Linked DNA regions of Homo sapiens: all the other regions are linked to region 1. Evidence: promoter capture Hi-C in 16 types of primary human blood cells and fetal thymus (Javierre and others, 2016). All regions are on one chromosome and are shown on one strand. The core of a region is centred on a gene start or on the middle of the fragment in contact, and the rest is flanking DNA. Distances in the headings are between cores, read along the strand shown.

Region 1 (2,694 bases), core at 31-2,530:
CATTAACCTACACACACACAGAAAAAAATTTGTTAAACTTATCAAATAGAAAAAGAAGGCAAAATCAAGCCCCTGGAAAATATTTTATTCTGAAAGAGTAAAAATGTCAAAATTATAACAGACACTACTCTTCTTTGGTAATGAAGGTTTCATATATTTACCACAGCAGAGAAAACTCCAAATCGGCAGAGCAAAGAAAGGACTGTGAACAAGACTGATCATTTAAAGGTCGTAAAGGTAAGGAGCAAACTACAAAATTAAATTTTTTTAAAAAAAGAACACGAAGATGAAAGGAGAGTCTGTAAGTCACAGACAAGATAAGGACTGGTAAAATCTGCAAGGTCACTGGAACCTACCAGGTCACAAAAGGTGGAGGTGGGGGTTGCGCTGGGGGGGCGGGGGATGGGGAGCTGCAGAGTCGGTGAAGAACGGAGAGTGATAAAAACATGTCAGAAAAAGACGTTCCAAAGCTGGAGTCCTTGGTTTGCAACGCTGAAATTGGGGTGAAAGTCAGGGAACGGGCAATGAGTCCATGTATTTGTGTTTTCAGGGAGGTGTTAGGGAAAGGTGGAGGAAGGCGAAGAGAAGGCTAAGGAAGCCTAAGAACTGCGGCTGCAGAGTCACGGAAACACTTCGCTCCGCTCCAGGATCACTGGCACAGGCCTTTGCCAGGGCGAACTCCGGGCAAGACCCGTGACCCCACCCCAGAAAACTCCCGACTCCCGGGCTGGAGAAGGTAGCCAAGGTAGGGCGGACCGTCCCCCGACGGGTCCTAGGAGGGTCCAGCCCGGGGGCGGACGGCGCCGGGCGCCCAGCACCGCGGCCAAGGCTCAGGGCCCGTGCCCCCTCCCGCCCTGCCCATTCGCACCCCCAGCCCCGCGCCGCGCCGTCCTTACCCGGCGCGAAGCTGTCGGCTCCCGGCAGCCGGGCGGCCACGGCAGCGGCACCTCCTCCTGCGGCGGGCGCCCTCACCCTTCCGCGCCCAAGATCGCCATCTCGCAGCAGGCGCGGCGGCAGCAGCCACCCAGGCGTCGGCCCCGGCAGCCCAGGCCGCCAGCAGCCACTCGGAACCCGCACGCGGAGCTCGCCGACACCCGACCCTCCCCCCACCCCCACCCCGTCCACGCGCCACCCCCAGCCGACCCCACACCTCCCTTCCTCGGGAGCGCGCCGCGTGGCCGCGTCGCCGGCGCCGCGCCCTAAGCGCGCGCCTCCCCGCCGGCCCCGGCACCGCGCGCTACGCCGCGGCCGCCCAAAGCCTCCAACTCCGGACCCGGAATCCGCCTCCCCCGAGCATGCGCAGCGAGGGCGCTCGGATGCTGCCTTAGGAAAACTCCGCTCCTCCGGGTCTTCCGAGCAGTCTAGCGGAGGGGGACGGACAGCCAATAGTAGGGAGGGGCGGGGCCTGAACGTGTGGAAGGGGCGGGGCCGCCGCTGAGATTTGGGAAGAGGCTGCTCTAAGCTCGCGCTGGGCACTGCTAATTTGACTTTCCGGTCGGCGGCTGATCCCGGAGCAGGACTTCTTAAGGTCCGGGGGCAAAAGTAGGCTGTCCATAAATACTCCTTGACCTAGCTGGGTGACCTCGAACACATTGCAAGAGTAAATAATTGCATTTAGCCATTGGTCATACCCGAAGACTTTCAGTCCATTTTTTATTAATCAAAACGTTCATCTGTGGAAGCCCCACCACCTAGTCCTCACTCACATCAGCCCGGTGATAAAGCAGATACTTATTGACCGAGTATACGTGTCCGCACAATTAACGCACACAACAATCTGACAAAGTAGTGTCTACTGTCTGCATTTTACAGAAAAGTCAACTAGTTTAGAAAAGTACTGTTGGTTATGTGTATTGCTTTTAGAAGAAAGGCCAATGTGCAAATAGAAGTCAGTGGGACCACATTGCTTACCAGGTGACCCGGTTTCTACTTCAGAGAAGCAGAAGCCTTCAGGCATGGATTTCTACAGCTTTTGCCCAACCACCTGACCAACCCCCATAGATTATATCTACGTCCACACCCAGACTTACTAGTTTTCCTTCTATCTCGGAGGCTAGATGTCCCTGCTCCTCTCCACTGCCTGCTCCCCACTGTGGGCGGTCCTTGGCACATCTTTAACTTCACCCTCTCCACTGCCTACAACTCCTCAGCATAATCACGTTTTAAGATTAGGTCCTAAATTTTCCCTTGATTTTAAAACCTCTGGTTCTCTCTCCCCTTCCATTTTAACTGAGCTTTTTGAAAGAACTGTGTACCAAAAACAACCCCAACACTTCATGAGTGTGTACAGAATTCAACAAGTATCTCTTGACTGAACAATGCACATTCCCGCCTACCTCCATGCATTAGTTCTTGTCCTCTGGCTTCATAGTTGAAATTGGTGCACATTATATCCACAAAGATCATTCGAAAATATACATCTGTGTCATTCCACTGCTTAAAATCATTCTTTGGCTTTTCGGAGCTCTCCTGACAAAGATTAACGTGATATTCAAGGTTCCTTTGATGCTCACATGCTCTATCTCTCCTGTTATGAAAAACTCTTCACAGTGCCCCATATGTGCCCACTCATCTCTGCTTTAAACATGTACTAAGATTTTCTTCATCTTTTTGCTTTTGCTGTCTGGTCCCTTTAAATAGATGCAATAATGTGCTTACAAACACGTCCTCAGAAATTCCGTAGGTATTCCCCAG
Region 2 (2,694 bases), core at 98-2,597, 1.2 Mb after region 1:
GCACATCAAACAGATACTAGATAATCAAGTGGGATTTATTCCAGGGATGCAGGAATTGTTCAATATATGTAAATGAACACATGTGATACATCATATCAACAGAATGAAGGACAAAATCCATAAGATCATCTCAGTAGATGCAGAAAACGCATTAGATGAAACTCAGTCTTTTCATGATACAAACTCTCAACAAACTAGGCATAGAAAGAACATACTTCAATATAATAAAGGCCGTATATGAAAAACTCACAGCTAACATCATCCTGAATGGGAAAAAGTTGAAATCCTTTCCTCTAAGAACTGGAACAAGACAAGTGTGCCCACTTTCAGCACTCTTATTTGACATACTACTGGAAATTATAGCTAGACCAATCGGCAATATAAAGAAATAAAAAGACATTGAAATTGGAAAAGAGAAAGTCAAATCGTCCCTGTTTGCAAATGGCATAATCTTATATCTAGAGAAACTTAAGGACTCTACCAAAAAACTCTTAGATCTGATAAATAAATTCAGGAAAGTTGCAGCATAGAATTTTAACATACACAAATGTAGCATTTCTATACACTAATAATGAACAAGCTGATAAAGAAACCAAGAAGGCAATCCCATTTGCAATAGCTATAAAAATAAAAGACTTAGAAATAAATTTAGCCAAGGATGTGAAAGGCAGCTTTTCTCTGCAAGAAAAGCTACAAAAGACTGATGAGGGAAATTGAAGAGGACACAGTCAAACAGAAAGCCATCTCAAGCTCATGTATCAGAAGAATCAACCTTGGCAAAACGACCATACTGCCCAAAGCAATCTACAAATTCAATGCAATTTCTATCAAAATGCCAACGTCAATTTTCACAGAAATAGAAAAAAGAATCATAAAATTGGTGTATAGAATCAACAAAGGGCTTGAATAACCAAAGTAATCCTGAGCAAAAAGAATAAAGCTGAAGGCATCACACTACCTGACTTCAAACCATATTACACAGCTATGGTAACCAAAACAGCATGGCATTGGTATTATAACAGACACATTGACTGATAGAGCAGAATAGAGAGCCCAGAAATAAACCTGCATACTTAAAACCAACTGATTTTTGACAAAAGTGCCAGGAACATACATTGTAGAGAAGATATCATCTTTAATAAATGGTGCTGGAAAAATTGGATATCCATGCAGAAGAATGAAATTGGACTACTGTCTCTCACCATATATAAAAAGCAGCTCAAGATGGATTATAAATTTAAATGTAAGACCTCGAATTATAAAGCTACTAGAAGAAAATGGGGAAAATATTTCAGAACATTTGTCTAGGCAAAGATTTTATGGCTAAGACAGGAAAAGCATAGATAACAAAAACAGAAATAGAGAAATGAGACTATGTTAAAATTGAAAAAACTGTACAGCAAAGAAAACCATCAAGACTTAGGATATCTGCTGAATGGAAGAAAATATTTGTAAACTATTTATCCAACAAGGGATGAATATCTAAAATATGCAAGGAACTCAAACAACTCAACAGTAAAAAAAAAAAATTCCATTGAAAAGTGGGCAAAGAACACAAATGGACATTTTTAGAAAGAAGACATACTAATGATCAACAGGTATATGAAAAAAATGCTTGTCGTTAATCATCAGGGAAATGCAAATCAAAATCAGAATGAGATACCATCTTACCCAGTTAGAATTGCTTTTATTAAAAAAGAGAAAAGGTAACAGATTCTGGCAAGAATATGGAGAAAAGGGAACTCTTATACACTATAGGTTGGAATGTAAATTAATGGGGCCACTATGGAAAACAGTATGGAGAATTCTCATAAAACTAAAAATAAAACTACTGTATGATCCAGCAATTCCCCTACTGGGTAATTATCTATAGGAAAAGAAATCATTATATCACAGGGATACCTGCACTCTCATGTTCATTGTGGCACTATTCACAAAAGCAAAGATATTGAGTCAACCTAAATGTCCATCAACAGATGAATGCATAAAGAAAATGTGGTATATAAACACAATGGATTACTAGTTGGCCATAAAAAATGAGATCTTGTCATTTGCAGAAACACGGATGGATCTGGAGGTTATTATGTTAAGTGAAATAAGCTCTGCACAGATTGAGAAATATCACATGTTCTCACTCATATGTGGGAGCTATAACAGTTGATCCCATGGAGATAGAGGTAGAAAGTAGAATGATAGATAACAGGATGGGAAGGGTGTGTGGGTTGGGGAGGATGGATGAAGAGAGATTGGTTAATGAGCACAAACATACAGTTAGGAGAAATAAGTTCTAATGTTCGATAGCAGAATAGGATGCCTAGAGGTAACAACAATGTAGTGTATGTTTCTTTTTCTTTCTTTCTTTTTGAGACAGAGTTTTGCTCTGTCTCCCAGGCTGGAGTGCAGTGGGGAGATCTTGGCTCACTGCAACCTCCACCTCCTGGGTTCAAGTATTCTCCTACCTCAGCCTCCTGAGTAGCTGGGATTACAGGCGCGTGCCACCACGTCCAACTAATTTTTGTATTTTTAGTGGAGACAGGGTTTCGCCATGTTGTCCAGGCTGGTCTCGAATTCCTGGCCTCAAGTGATCCACCCACCTCAGCCTCCCGAAGTGCTGGGATTACAGGCGTGAGACGCCACGCTCGGCCTGTAGTGTATCTTTCAAAATAGCTAGAAGAGAGGACTTAAACTTTCTCA
Region 3 (2,694 bases), core at 136-2,635, 1.2 Mb after region 1:
GTGTGTGTGTGTTTTCACACACGTGCAGAAGTCCATTTCAGGCAGCAGGAAACACCTGTGCAGCAGCCCTGAGGCAGGAGGAGAGGGCATGTGAGAGTGCTGAAAGACAGTCAGTGAGACTGGAGTCATCTAAGAGGGAGTGCATAGACGAGGTGGCAGAGGAAGGAGGGCCAGACTAGGCAGGATCTTGTAGGTGTCTGAACGTTGTTCTAAGTAGAGGTATAATATAACCTTAAATTCTTAAATTGTATATATATTGATGACATCTGGCTTTTGAGTCCCGGAGTTCCTAGGTCAGCTCCCAGCTACTCCCTGAAGCGTAAGGCTCAGGTAGGTGCTTCCAAACACCCCTCACAGTGTGAAAAGCGTGGAACTGCCCATTTCTCTGACTTTTTCTGATAATTATAATCTGGAAGCTACTAAAATAAAGAACAACGGGGCACACATTTGTGAATACATATTCATTGTATGAAATAGGAAAAAAACATAAAAACTTATATACCTACTAATAAGAATGGTTAATTCTGGGTAATGTGACAGATCAAAATTATGAAGACATTATAAATCATGTTTACAATTTGGAAAAAGAGGTTGGGTGCAGTGGCTCATGCCTACAATCACAGCACTTTCAGAGACTGAGGCGGGTGGATCACTTGGGGCCATGACTTTAAAACCAGCCTAGCCAACATGATGAAACCCCATCTTTACCAATACACAAAAATTACCCAGGCATGGTGGTTCACACCTATAATTCCAGCTACTTGGGTGGCTGAGGCAGGAGACTCGCTTGAGCCTGGGTGGTAGAGGTTGCAGTAAGCCAAGATCTCACCACTGCATTCCAGCCTGGGTCACAGAGACTCTGCCTCAAAAATAATAATAATAATATTAATAAGTAGGAACAATAAACATTTGATCTCAGCTATAAAAAGTTGCAAGAAATGGGAAATACTAAAAATTGTTGACAGTGGTTCTCTGTGAGTGGTTGCATACTGGGCAAGTTTTACTCTAGAGTATATTAACCTTTTCCCAAGCTTTCTACTGATACTTCAGTAATTGTATTTTAGGTTGGAAAAGGAACATCAGAAAGTATATCCTCACTTTCACAAAAATATTAAGATGTAAGAGGAAACTTACTCATAATTGAGGACAGTCAGTCTTTACTGGTGAAATTAAAACAATGATTTATTTAGGAAGGGATGGAGCAAGATGGCAGAGTAGGACGCTTCAGCAATTTTCCCCAGCAGAAACACCAATTTGAACAAGCATCCATACTATAACATACCTTCACAAGAGCTAAATAAGCCATATAAGAGATTACACTATCTGGTTGCAGCACAATAATAAGAAAAGTCACATTGAAGAGGGTAAGAAGGGCAGTTTTATATTACCCCGTCATCCTTCCCTCAACCCTAGGAAGCACAGCAAGGAGAGAGACACCATACCTTTAGCTCCAATGCTAGGATTGCCAAAGTAAAACCTAACACTGGTGAGACCACCACAACCCCATGTTCCAGGCTAGTGCGCATAGACTGAAGCTCTAGATCCAGCCTGGTGCCAAGCAGGATCACATAACCCGAGGCTTCAGGCTTTCAAGGCAAACTCAATCTCTGGGCTGCACCAATGCCAGGCTGATGTCAGCAGTCCAGGGCTCTGGACAGCTCACAATACCAGGGATATCTCAGTGAACTTTGGCTTCAGATTGCACCACTCCTGTGCTGGCCACATCTGCCAAAAGCTTCTGGCCTGCCTCAGTGCTCAAAGTGCTGAAAGAAACCCTGCCAGCCAAGAATACCAAACCCCACAAAGCTGTCCTTCAGAAATGAAGAAGAGATAAAGCCTGTTCCAGAAAAACAGAAGATAAGGGAGTTCATGACTACCAGAAGTGTTTTACAAAAAATGGTAAAGGGAAGTCTTCAATCTCCAAAAAAAAAAAAAAAAAAAGGATGCTAAGGAGTAACACAAAACAATCTGAAAGTCTAAAACTCACTTAAAAGTAAGTACACTGACTAAAGATATAAGCAATTTATGCAGCATCATCACAGAATTAAAGTATTCTGGATTTTGTGTAAAAGTTAAAAGACAAAACTATTAAAAATCATAGTAGCTGCAATAATTTTTAAGCAATAGACGATATAAAAAGATAAAACTTGTGACATCAAATATTCAAAATGTGAGGAGGGGACTGGAATAAAAGCATAGAGGCTTGTTAGGTTTCTTTTTGTTTGTTTGTTTTTGCGATCAAACTTGTTATCAGCTTAAAATACCGCATTGTAAGATATTTTTTTGTAAGCCTCATGGTAACAACAAAGCAAAAACCTATAGCAGATACATAAAAAGGCAAGGAATCAAAACATACCACTAGACAACAACATAATTTAGCCACAAAAGAAGATAGAAAGAAAGGAAGAAAATATCTACAAAACAACTAGAAAACAACAAAATGACAGTATTAACTACTTACCTATGAATGATAACCCTGAACGTAAGTGGATTAAGTTCTCCAATAAAAAGGCAAAGTAGTTAAATGGATTTTTAAAAACACTCAACTTATGCTGCCTATAAGAGGCTTGCTTCACCTGTAAGGACGTAGACTGAAAATGAAAGAACAGAAAATGATACTCCATGCAAATAGAAACCAAAAGAAAGCAGAAGTGGCTATACATATATCAGATTAAATAGATTTTAAGTCAAAAA
Region 4 (2,694 bases), core at 91-2,590, 1.1 Mb after region 1:
AACCCAGGTAAAACCCATGTAAAGCTTGCCTGCTTTATATCCTAATTAGATTGTAAGCTTTTTAAGGACTACATTTTCTTTTTTTTTTTTTTTAAGATGGAGTCTTACTCTGTCGCCCAGACTGGAGTGGTGCGATCTCGGCTCACTGCAACCTCCAACTCCTGGGTTCAAGCAATTCTCCTGCCTCAGCTTTCCAAGTAGCTGGGACTACAGGTGTGCGCCGCCACACCCAGCTAATTTTTGTATTTTTTAGTAGAGACAGGGCTTCACTATATGTTGGCAAGACTGGTCTCGAACCCCTGACCTCAGGTAATCTGCCTGCCTTGGCTTCCCTAAGTGCTGGGATTACAGTTGTGAGCCACCACGCCCAGCCAGCACTACCTTTTCTATTGTGCATCCTAATGGTCTGTAGTATAGACATATTTATAGGGGAAAGAAAGGAATAGATGTGGGCAAAAAGAAGCTAAAAAACATTCCATGTCCAGTTATATCTTGTTAGCGTCACTTTTAACCTGTGAAATCCCATTTTAGCAATGAGACACATCCTAGAGGTAAAATAAACAATTTGGATTATATACAATATAGTTTTAAATTATCTGCAATATGATGTCTATATTGGCACCATTCATTCATTCATTCATTCAGTAGTCACTGAGAGATTGCCTACCATGCTCCCTTTATTTGGAATCAGTAAGGTACTGCCAAATTAAGAGTTGTGCTCTCTACTCCTGATACCCAGTGTGAAATGTTTTAGCTTTTTAAAATTTCATAAATGAAACAAATGAGGAAAGTAAGATTTCCTACATAATTGGAGTTGAGACCATTTATCACTTCTATAAAACTAAGCTTCCCAAATAAAAAGTATAACAAAGAATATGGAGAAACAAGAGGCATAAGTCACTATGGTCCATACTTAAAGATAGTTGGAACATATTTTCTTAAAGGTAGTTGGAACATATTTCACTAATTTATCCTAGACTTACTAAGAGAGATAAAAGAACCTTACCAAGTAAACTTCAGGTAAAAGCTGAAATCTACATATGCCACAAATGGAAAATTCCACACCTGACCTTGTGATAGGCTGCAGTCAAGCCACAGTCAATATTTTGTTTCATGCAAAAATTAAAACTATTGTATAAAATTATATTCAGGCTATGTGAATAAGGTGTGTATGAAACAAATGAATACTGTGTTTAGACTTGGGTCCTATCCCCAAGATATGTTATTATGTATATGCAAATATTCCAAAATGTCAAAAGTGCTTGGGACATTTCTGGTCACAAGCACTTTGGATAAGAGAGCCAACCTGTTTTTATATTTCTCCCTCTCTAATTTACAAAAGAAAGGCTCTGAACCCACCTGAAGATATATCTGTAGCTGATGTCTGCTGCAGAGCCTGGCTTCTTTCAGAGACATGTTGCTCAGGCAGATTTTGAGTTGCCATGCTGGATTTCTGTGGAGTCACTGGAGTCAAGGACTGGGAGGAAGGCTGTGTGAGGTCATCAGGTGGGGGAACAGGAAAAACCACGGGCTTAGATGAACTCGACTCTTTATTTATAAGCAGCACATGGATAGGTCCTGAATGACTCTTTAGATTGATCTGGTATTTCTTTTGTCCATTCTGACCCTTTGAAGTTATTGGGTATAAACAAATGTATAATTATTAACATTTCTAGCTAACTTAAGACAGTACAATAAGACAGGCAAAGCTATTAGGGACTTACTAAATTCACATAACACAATAAAGTCATTAAGTCAAAACACAAAAGTAGAGACATAGAGTAGAATGTAATTTTGAGGGCTCTAAACCACTAGTTTCTAAAAAGTAAGCTTTTCACAAATACTGATCATTAGAAACTCTCTGTTGTAGAATTCTGGCAACCATCTGTTGTTACCGTGTGTGACTATATAATAGGTCAGGGCCCAGCAATGCTCCAGGTATTCTCCATATACAGGAAATTTATCCCCTGGAGTTGGCCACCACAGATCTGGTCAGTTCAACATGCTTCACAAATCAAACTCTTTTTTTTCCCATCTGCAAGCACAAAGACAACTAATTTCTCCTACTGAGAAATAAATATAACATTCTTCCAGCTGAAAAAGTAATCTGTATCCTGAGGCTTCAGACTCCAGTAATACAAATGCCTAAATGTAAACTTTTTTAATAAGCGGGTGGGGGAAGGAGGTAGATAATATAGTAATCTTTTTCTACTCCCTTTTTTGGTTATTGCTTTCAAATTAGTTTGTTTTTAAAAATCTGAATCTGAAAACGAAAATCATGAAACTCATAGAGTCAATAAATGTCTTTGACTTAATAAGCCAGACAATGTTTTATAAAAGACCTAATTTAAAGGAATTGATTGTTGATATGTACATTGAACTTTTTCCTCAGTGGCAATTTTTATATCAATTGTAGATGTGTTGTTGTTGTTGTTGTTTTGATACAGAGTTTCACTCTTGTTGCCCAGGCTGGAGTGCAATGGCGCGATTTCGGCTCACTGCAACCACTGCCTCCTAGGTTGAAGCAATTCTGCTGCCTCAGCCTCCCAAGTAGCTGGGATTACAGGCATGCACCACCATGCCCGGCTAATTTTGTATTTTTAGTAGAGATGGGGTTTCACCATGTTGGTCAGGCTGGTCTTAAACTCCTGACCTCAAGTGATCCACCTGCCTTGGCCTCCCAAAGTGCTGAGA
Region 5 (2,694 bases), core at 137-2,636, 1.1 Mb after region 1:
TAAATTGACAAAAATTGTATATATTTATGTGTACAACATGATGTTTTGAAATATATGCACATTGAGGAATGGCTAAACTAAGCCTTAATTTTGACAGTTATTCACTATAAGGCTTTTTGGTGTCACTGCGATTATTTCAAATAATTATTATTTAAACAATCAGTTCAGTTTAACGTAGGAACAAGAAAAAATGTTTTACTTTTGATAATGTGTGATATACAAGAAGAAAAGTGTATGTCATTATTATTTATCCTATTAATACATTTCTATCAATGAATTATAATTTCAGTAATCCTTTGCTCACCCTGCAAGGATGAGCGTGGAGAAGAAGAGTGGAGAAGTAACCCACAATGTAACTTAATTTCCCAGCGAGAACCTGAACCCTTACTAAAGTCCCCAGTAGTAGTCAGCCAACTGCAAATTGCTGTGGGAATATTTACAGTAACAACTATTAGGAAACATGCAGTATTTTGTTTGCCACGAAGCCAACTTAATCTTCAGTGTCACAATGCAAGTTAAGATTTCCTAAATATATTTTTAAAGATTTTCTATGATTTGTTTCTCCTAAGTGAATAGTGAGCTTAAAAGACTGAAAGCGAACTTGTCCTTATTTCACTGAAGTGTGTCATCAGACTTCTGATCTCCAAGCCTGTAATTGATACGTGGCTGTTACTAGGCAAAGTCCTTGGCTTTTCAGATGAAGGTGAACTCACACGTATGAACACTTGGGAGTTTGGGGAATCCTGACAGAGATAACACACACCAACGCTCACATCCACCACCAACAACCCGTCTACCCTGACAAGACTGCTCTCCGCTTCTCGCACTGGGCTCCCAGGAGTGCTGCTTAGTTTAAAGAGGAACCGAAAAAGTTTCTCAATGTGCGAGCCCAGTGTGTGGTCAGCGAGCGCCGGGGCGTCGCGCTAGTCCTCTCGTCCCCCGCACAAACCCCCCCTTGGATCAGGAAAAGGCGCTCACCGTTGTGCTCGCGGTATCCCCAGCTGAGCCTCGACATGGTCCCTCGGGGTGGAAGGAAGAGAAAGATGTGACTGAGCAGCGAGAAAGAGGAGGGAGCGGGGAGGGGCCCGGGAAGGAGCCTGCTAGGGCGGGACCGCGGGGCGCCGGCGGCAGGAGTGCGAGACCGTGAACCCGGTCCGGGGCGCTCCCGCCTGCGTCCTCCAGACGGCAGAGGCGTGCGGGGAAGGCGCCCGCGCCGCTGGCTGACTCCTGGGGCGCGAGTCTCTCTTAGTTTGGACTCGGGAATGAGAGATTTGAGTTAGAGGGAGAGACGGAGAGAGAAAGGTTTCCGGGGGGGATCTCCTGCCTTCTGAGGAGTCGTCACTCGGGAGAGGAAAGTGTTGCCTAGAGGACTTCCAGGAAGTGAATGAGTCACCAGAGCCTGGAACTGCCAGGCTGGGAGGTGGGGATCCCGGTGGAGGCGTAAAAGAGGTCGGTGATGGTCGTGGCAGTGATGATTACAAATACAAAACAATAATGACGATGGTAATCACCACCACTGAAAAATAACTACTTATTAAGGGCTTATCGTGGGCGAGGGTCTTAGCTAAGACGTGTACCCACGTTTTCCCATTAGATCCTCTCAGCATTTCCTCGAGAAACACGTGGCTTAAGTTAGAGACACTATGTAACCTGCCCCGGGTCGCTCAGCTAAAGCGGGCGGGGTCGCTGTTAGAGAGGACCAGCTCCCGGTCCTGGGCTGGCTCCATTGCCCATTCATCCTTTCCTTACCTCTTCTCACTCTGCAGGCTTGTGGCTTGGTGAGTGAGGAAACCAAAACCAGTTGTTGAGATTTGGTCCCAAAATTCTGCTGCCCTCCTGACCCCGCAAGAAGGGTTTTCAGGACATCTGCCCTGGATTCTTGGTGGGCTTGTTACCCTAGGACTGGAGTCAGAACTAGCTGCAGAGTCTTGAATTTCTGGCCTGGAGTCGTGAATGTTCTGGGTTCAAAGTGAAAAATAAAAATTGGGTACATGAACCACTTTCTACGTCCTTGTCTCGGGTCAACTGCCTCATATTTTATAAATCCAAGCAACCTCTTTGTAAGGAACCTAGTAAACCAATTTTCAGTAACTCGGATGATTTGGTATGTCAAGATGAATAATGCTCTTAACGTTCTAAGTAAGTATCAGTTCTTGACACCCAATAATAGTGGTTACATGAATGGATGAATGACTGAATAGACCAAAATTGTTAAAGAAATTTTGGTTGGTGGGTCTCAAATACTTCCCAAATTGTTACTTTTATTGCTTGGGTACACAGTTTGTAACCACCCAATGGGTTTACCTTGCCCACTGTCAAGACACAGCTGATTTATCAAGACAGGGGAATTGCAATTCATAAAGGGAAATTCACGTAGAGCCGGCTGTGCAGAGGACTGGAGTTTTATTATTACACAAATCAGTCTCCGCAAGCATTGGGGATCAAAGTTTTTAAGGACAATTTGGTGGGTGGAGGAGAGCCAGTAAGTCGGGAGACCTGGTTGTTTGGGTCAGAGGTGAAATCATAGGGAGTCAAAGCTGTCTTGCATTAAGTCAGTTCCTGGGTGGGGGCCATGGGATCAGATGAGCCAGTTTATCGAGCTGAGTGGTGCCTGCTGATCCATCCAGTGCAGGGTCTGCAACATATCTGAAGCACTGGTCTTAGGCTTTACAATAGTGATGTTATTCCCAGGAG
Region 6 (2,694 bases), core at 114-2,613, 1.1 Mb after region 1:
AGTTTTTATCCAATAGCCTACTTGAACATGAGCCTAGAATGCCTAACAGACATCTCAAACTTAACCTGTCTAAAACAGAGAGTGAATTCCTCTCTGCAACCTGCTCCTTCCCAGACTTGCACATTTCAGTAAATGGCACCACCAGCCTCCAATATGCTTACATCGAAACCTTAAGAGTGTTTCTAAACTCCTGTTTTTCCTTCCTTCAATCATGACATCCTTTTCATCAGCAAACCCTATTGACTTTATCTCCCAAACATCATAGATTTGTCCAGCTCTCTTCGTCTCCACCACCCCCAGAGTCCAAATTACTGTCACTGCTCACTTGAATGACTTCCATAACCTTCTAGTTTTTCTCCCTACTTCAACATTTGCCTGACAGCGGCCTCCTCTCTACCCAGCAGCTAGTTATATTTTGTAAAATATAAAGCAGAACATGTCATTCCCCTGATCAAAACCTTCCATTGTCTTCTTCCCACTGCATTACAGATAAACTTCAGACTGCTTACAATGCCCAACAGTACCCGATGTGGCATGGTCCCTGCCTGCCTCATCAGGACAGAGCACATAACTTTTCCTTTCTCATTAATTCCAATCCTAATAGGCCAATGACTTTCTCCTCTTGAACATGCCAGCCTCACTCCTGCCTTAGAGAACTTGAGCTTGCTGCTCCCACTTCCTGGAAAGGTCTCTCTAGATTTTTCTCTTAATGCTTTCTTCTTATCAGTCAGTCTCAACTCATGTATCACCTCAAAGAAGCTTTTCCTAAGCCCTCAGCCACTCTACCAGATCACATGGTATTGTTCCCATCAAAGAACTTACCATGCACCATTTATTTATTTGCTTATTGTCTACCTCTCCCACCCCACCAAGCCTGAGGTTTGACCCAGACTTTCTCTATCTGCATTTCCTATCTCAACCTAGAAACATGGATCCTGCCCTCCCTCACTCTCAAACCCACCAATCGACAAATGCCACTAAAGCTGCCACTGCCAGCCAGCCAGCCTCTACCTGCACTCTCATTTATTGCCTGGAACTTTCCCCAAAAGTTTCCTCCAAAGCTCCCCTTAGCCACTCCTGCTTCCATCCAATCTATTCTCAAACAGTAGTTGAATTATTTTTGAAATGCAAATATCACCACTTCCCAATGGAAAGCCTTTCAGTGGCTTCCCATTGCACTTAGAATCACCTTCATAAACCTTACCAGGACTTACCTCAGTAAGATCAGGCCCTTCCCAGCCTCTCCAACTTTGCCTCTGACAACTCTCCCCTTCATTCTCCAAGCTCCAACTACACTGTTAAAGGCCATACTGTTTTTCAAATGTATGAGCCTCCTTCCCAACCCACATCCTCACACATGATTTTATGCAAAACCACTGCTGTCCCCCCACTTGACCTAGTTCCCTCCCCTTCAACCAAACCAGGTTTTAAGTTAAACCAGGTTTAACTTAAAACGGATGCCTATCCCACAGGGCAGCATTTTCTGACCTCAAATATGTGTGAGGCTGCACTCCTTTCAGGGTAAGCATCAGTAAGCTGTGTAAAGATTAGGAGCATGGTTGATTCTCAATGAATTCTTACTGAGTGAAAGAATGAATGAATATATAAGCCAATGAAATAAGAAGCAATCATCCCTCCTTGGCCTCCCAAAGTGCTGGGATTACAGGCATGAGCCACTGCACCCACCCTTGGAATTGTATACTGTTCTTTAATATGCATTCAAGGAGTTTCAGACCAGCCTAGGCAAGATGGCCAGACTCTGTCTCTATAAAAAATAATTAGCCAGATGTAGTGGTGCCCACCTGTGGTCCCAGTTGCTCTGGAGGCTAAGGTGGGAGGATCCCTTGAACCCAGGAGGTCAAAGCTACAGTGAGCCATGTTTGTACCATGGCACTCTAGCCTGGGCAACAGATCGAGAGCCTGTCTCAAAGAAAAAGAAAGAAAAAAGAAAATCTATTCCAAGCTTTATCCACAAAGCTTTATCTTTAAATGCTGGTGCTGGTCATAGTTTCTTTGTTAGATTCTCTCATTTAAAAACAAACAAACATATATATATATATACACTGGCCGGGCGCGGTGGCTCACGCCTGTAATCCTAACACTTTGGGAGTCCGAGGCAGACAGATCACCTGAGGTTGGGAGTTCGAGACCAGCCTGACCAACATGGAGAAACCCTGTCTCTACTAAAAATACAAAATTAGCCAGGCATGGTGGCGCATGCCTGTAATCCCAGCTACTCGGGTGGCTGAGGCAGGAGAAGCACTTGAACCCAGGAGGCAGAGGTTGCAGTAAGCCAAGATCGCACCATCGCATTCTAGCCTGGGCAACAAGAGCAAAACTCTGTCTCAAAAAAAAAATAAATAAAATACTGTTTGTTTAAAGCATGCATAAAAATGTATGTCTTAAAATATACTTAAAAATTCCAAGATGCTTCTGATTTGTGTAATATTTACCTGGAGGACTCATACTTAGGTGTCTTAACATGAATTGAGTCTCCAAGGTCTCCATGTGAAACAAAAGAAGGGAAAATAATTATCTGTAATGTTGTAAGTTGTACCTAAGTTTTTTAATAAGTGAAATTTGCATTATAAATTTTTTCCATTTATAAATACATAAGTGAACCAAAGGTTTTGGTCCTTTCCTTCACTGGTTTGCTTTAAAATAAATAAATAAATAAAAGATAATTATTTATTG

Evidence for each region. The method cuts DNA at HindIII sites, captures the fragments that hold promoters and counts their contacts. A CHiCAGO score of 5 or more calls a contact.
Region 2: a contact is called between a fragment that was not itself captured here and the fragment with the promoter of WWP1 in region 1, in 1 of 17 cell types (fetal thymus). The highest score is 6.2, in fetal thymus.
Region 3: a fragment that was not itself captured here is called in contact with the fragment with the promoter of WWP1 in region 1 in 1 of 17 cell types (naive CD8 T cells); the score reaches 5.3 in naive CD8 T cells.
Region 4: a fragment that was not itself captured here is called in contact with the fragment with the promoter of WWP1 in region 1 in 8 of 17 cell types (fetal thymus, monocytes, total CD8 T cells and 5 more); the score reaches 9.6 in fetal thymus.
Region 5: a contact is called between the fragment with the promoter of CA13 here and the fragment with the promoter of WWP1 in region 1, in 6 of 17 cell types (activated CD4 T cells, M1 macrophages, neutrophils and 3 more). The highest score is 7.2, in activated CD4 T cells.
Region 6: a contact is called between a fragment that was not itself captured here and the fragment with the promoter of WWP1 in region 1, in 1 of 17 cell types (monocytes). The highest score is 5.5, in monocytes.

The regions. Positions count from the first base shown.
Region 1 is chr8:86,341,133-86,343,826 of GRCh38, reverse strand. It overlaps WWP1 (WW domain containing E3 ubiquitin protein ligase 1), which reads right to left and starts at 1,280. Exons shown (of 25, transcript NM_007013.4): 1 at 897-1,280. It overlaps WWP1-AS1 (WWP1 antisense RNA 1), which reads left to right. Exons shown (of 6, transcript XR_007060994.1): 2 at 167-237; 3 at 551-745. RefSeq lists a silencer at 730-1,189. The HindIII fragment of the contact is 10,725 bases long and covers 1-2,694 here.
Region 2 is chr8:85,100,233-85,102,926 of GRCh38, reverse strand. All of the region lies in intron 1 of LOC105375933 (a long non-coding RNA gene), which reads left to right. Among named protein-coding and RNA genes, the nearest start is that of LRRCC1, 5.7 kb to the left of the region's middle. The HindIII fragment of the contact is 3,894 bases long and covers 1-2,694 here.
Region 3 is chr8:85,187,564-85,190,257 of GRCh38, reverse strand. The region is part of intron 1 of E2F5 (E2F transcription factor 5); the gene reads right to left. Among named protein-coding and RNA genes, the nearest start is that of E2F5, 12 kb to the right of the region's middle. RefSeq lists an enhancer at 309-378. The HindIII fragment of the contact is 704 bases long and covers 1,034-1,737 here.
Region 4 is chr8:85,208,075-85,210,768 of GRCh38, reverse strand. It overlaps E2F5 (E2F transcription factor 5), which reads right to left. Exons shown (of 8, transcript NM_001951.4): 6 at 1,360-1,627. Among named protein-coding and RNA genes, the nearest start is that of RBIS, 11 kb to the left of the region's middle. The HindIII fragment of the contact is 984 bases long and covers 849-1,832 here.
Region 5 is chr8:85,244,150-85,246,843 of GRCh38, reverse strand. It overlaps CA13 (carbonic anhydrase 13), which reads right to left and starts at 1,386. Exons shown (of 7, transcript NM_198584.3): 1 at 979-1,386. The coding sequence starts at 1,015. RefSeq lists an enhancer at 582-691 and a silencer at 1,052-1,131. The HindIII fragment of the contact is 11,713 bases long and covers 1-2,694 here.
Region 6 is chr8:85,261,097-85,263,790 of GRCh38, reverse strand. All of the region lies in intron 3 of CA13 (carbonic anhydrase 13), which reads right to left. Among named protein-coding and RNA genes, the nearest start is that of CA13, 17 kb to the right of the region's middle. The HindIII fragment of the contact is 1,204 bases long and covers 762-1,965 here.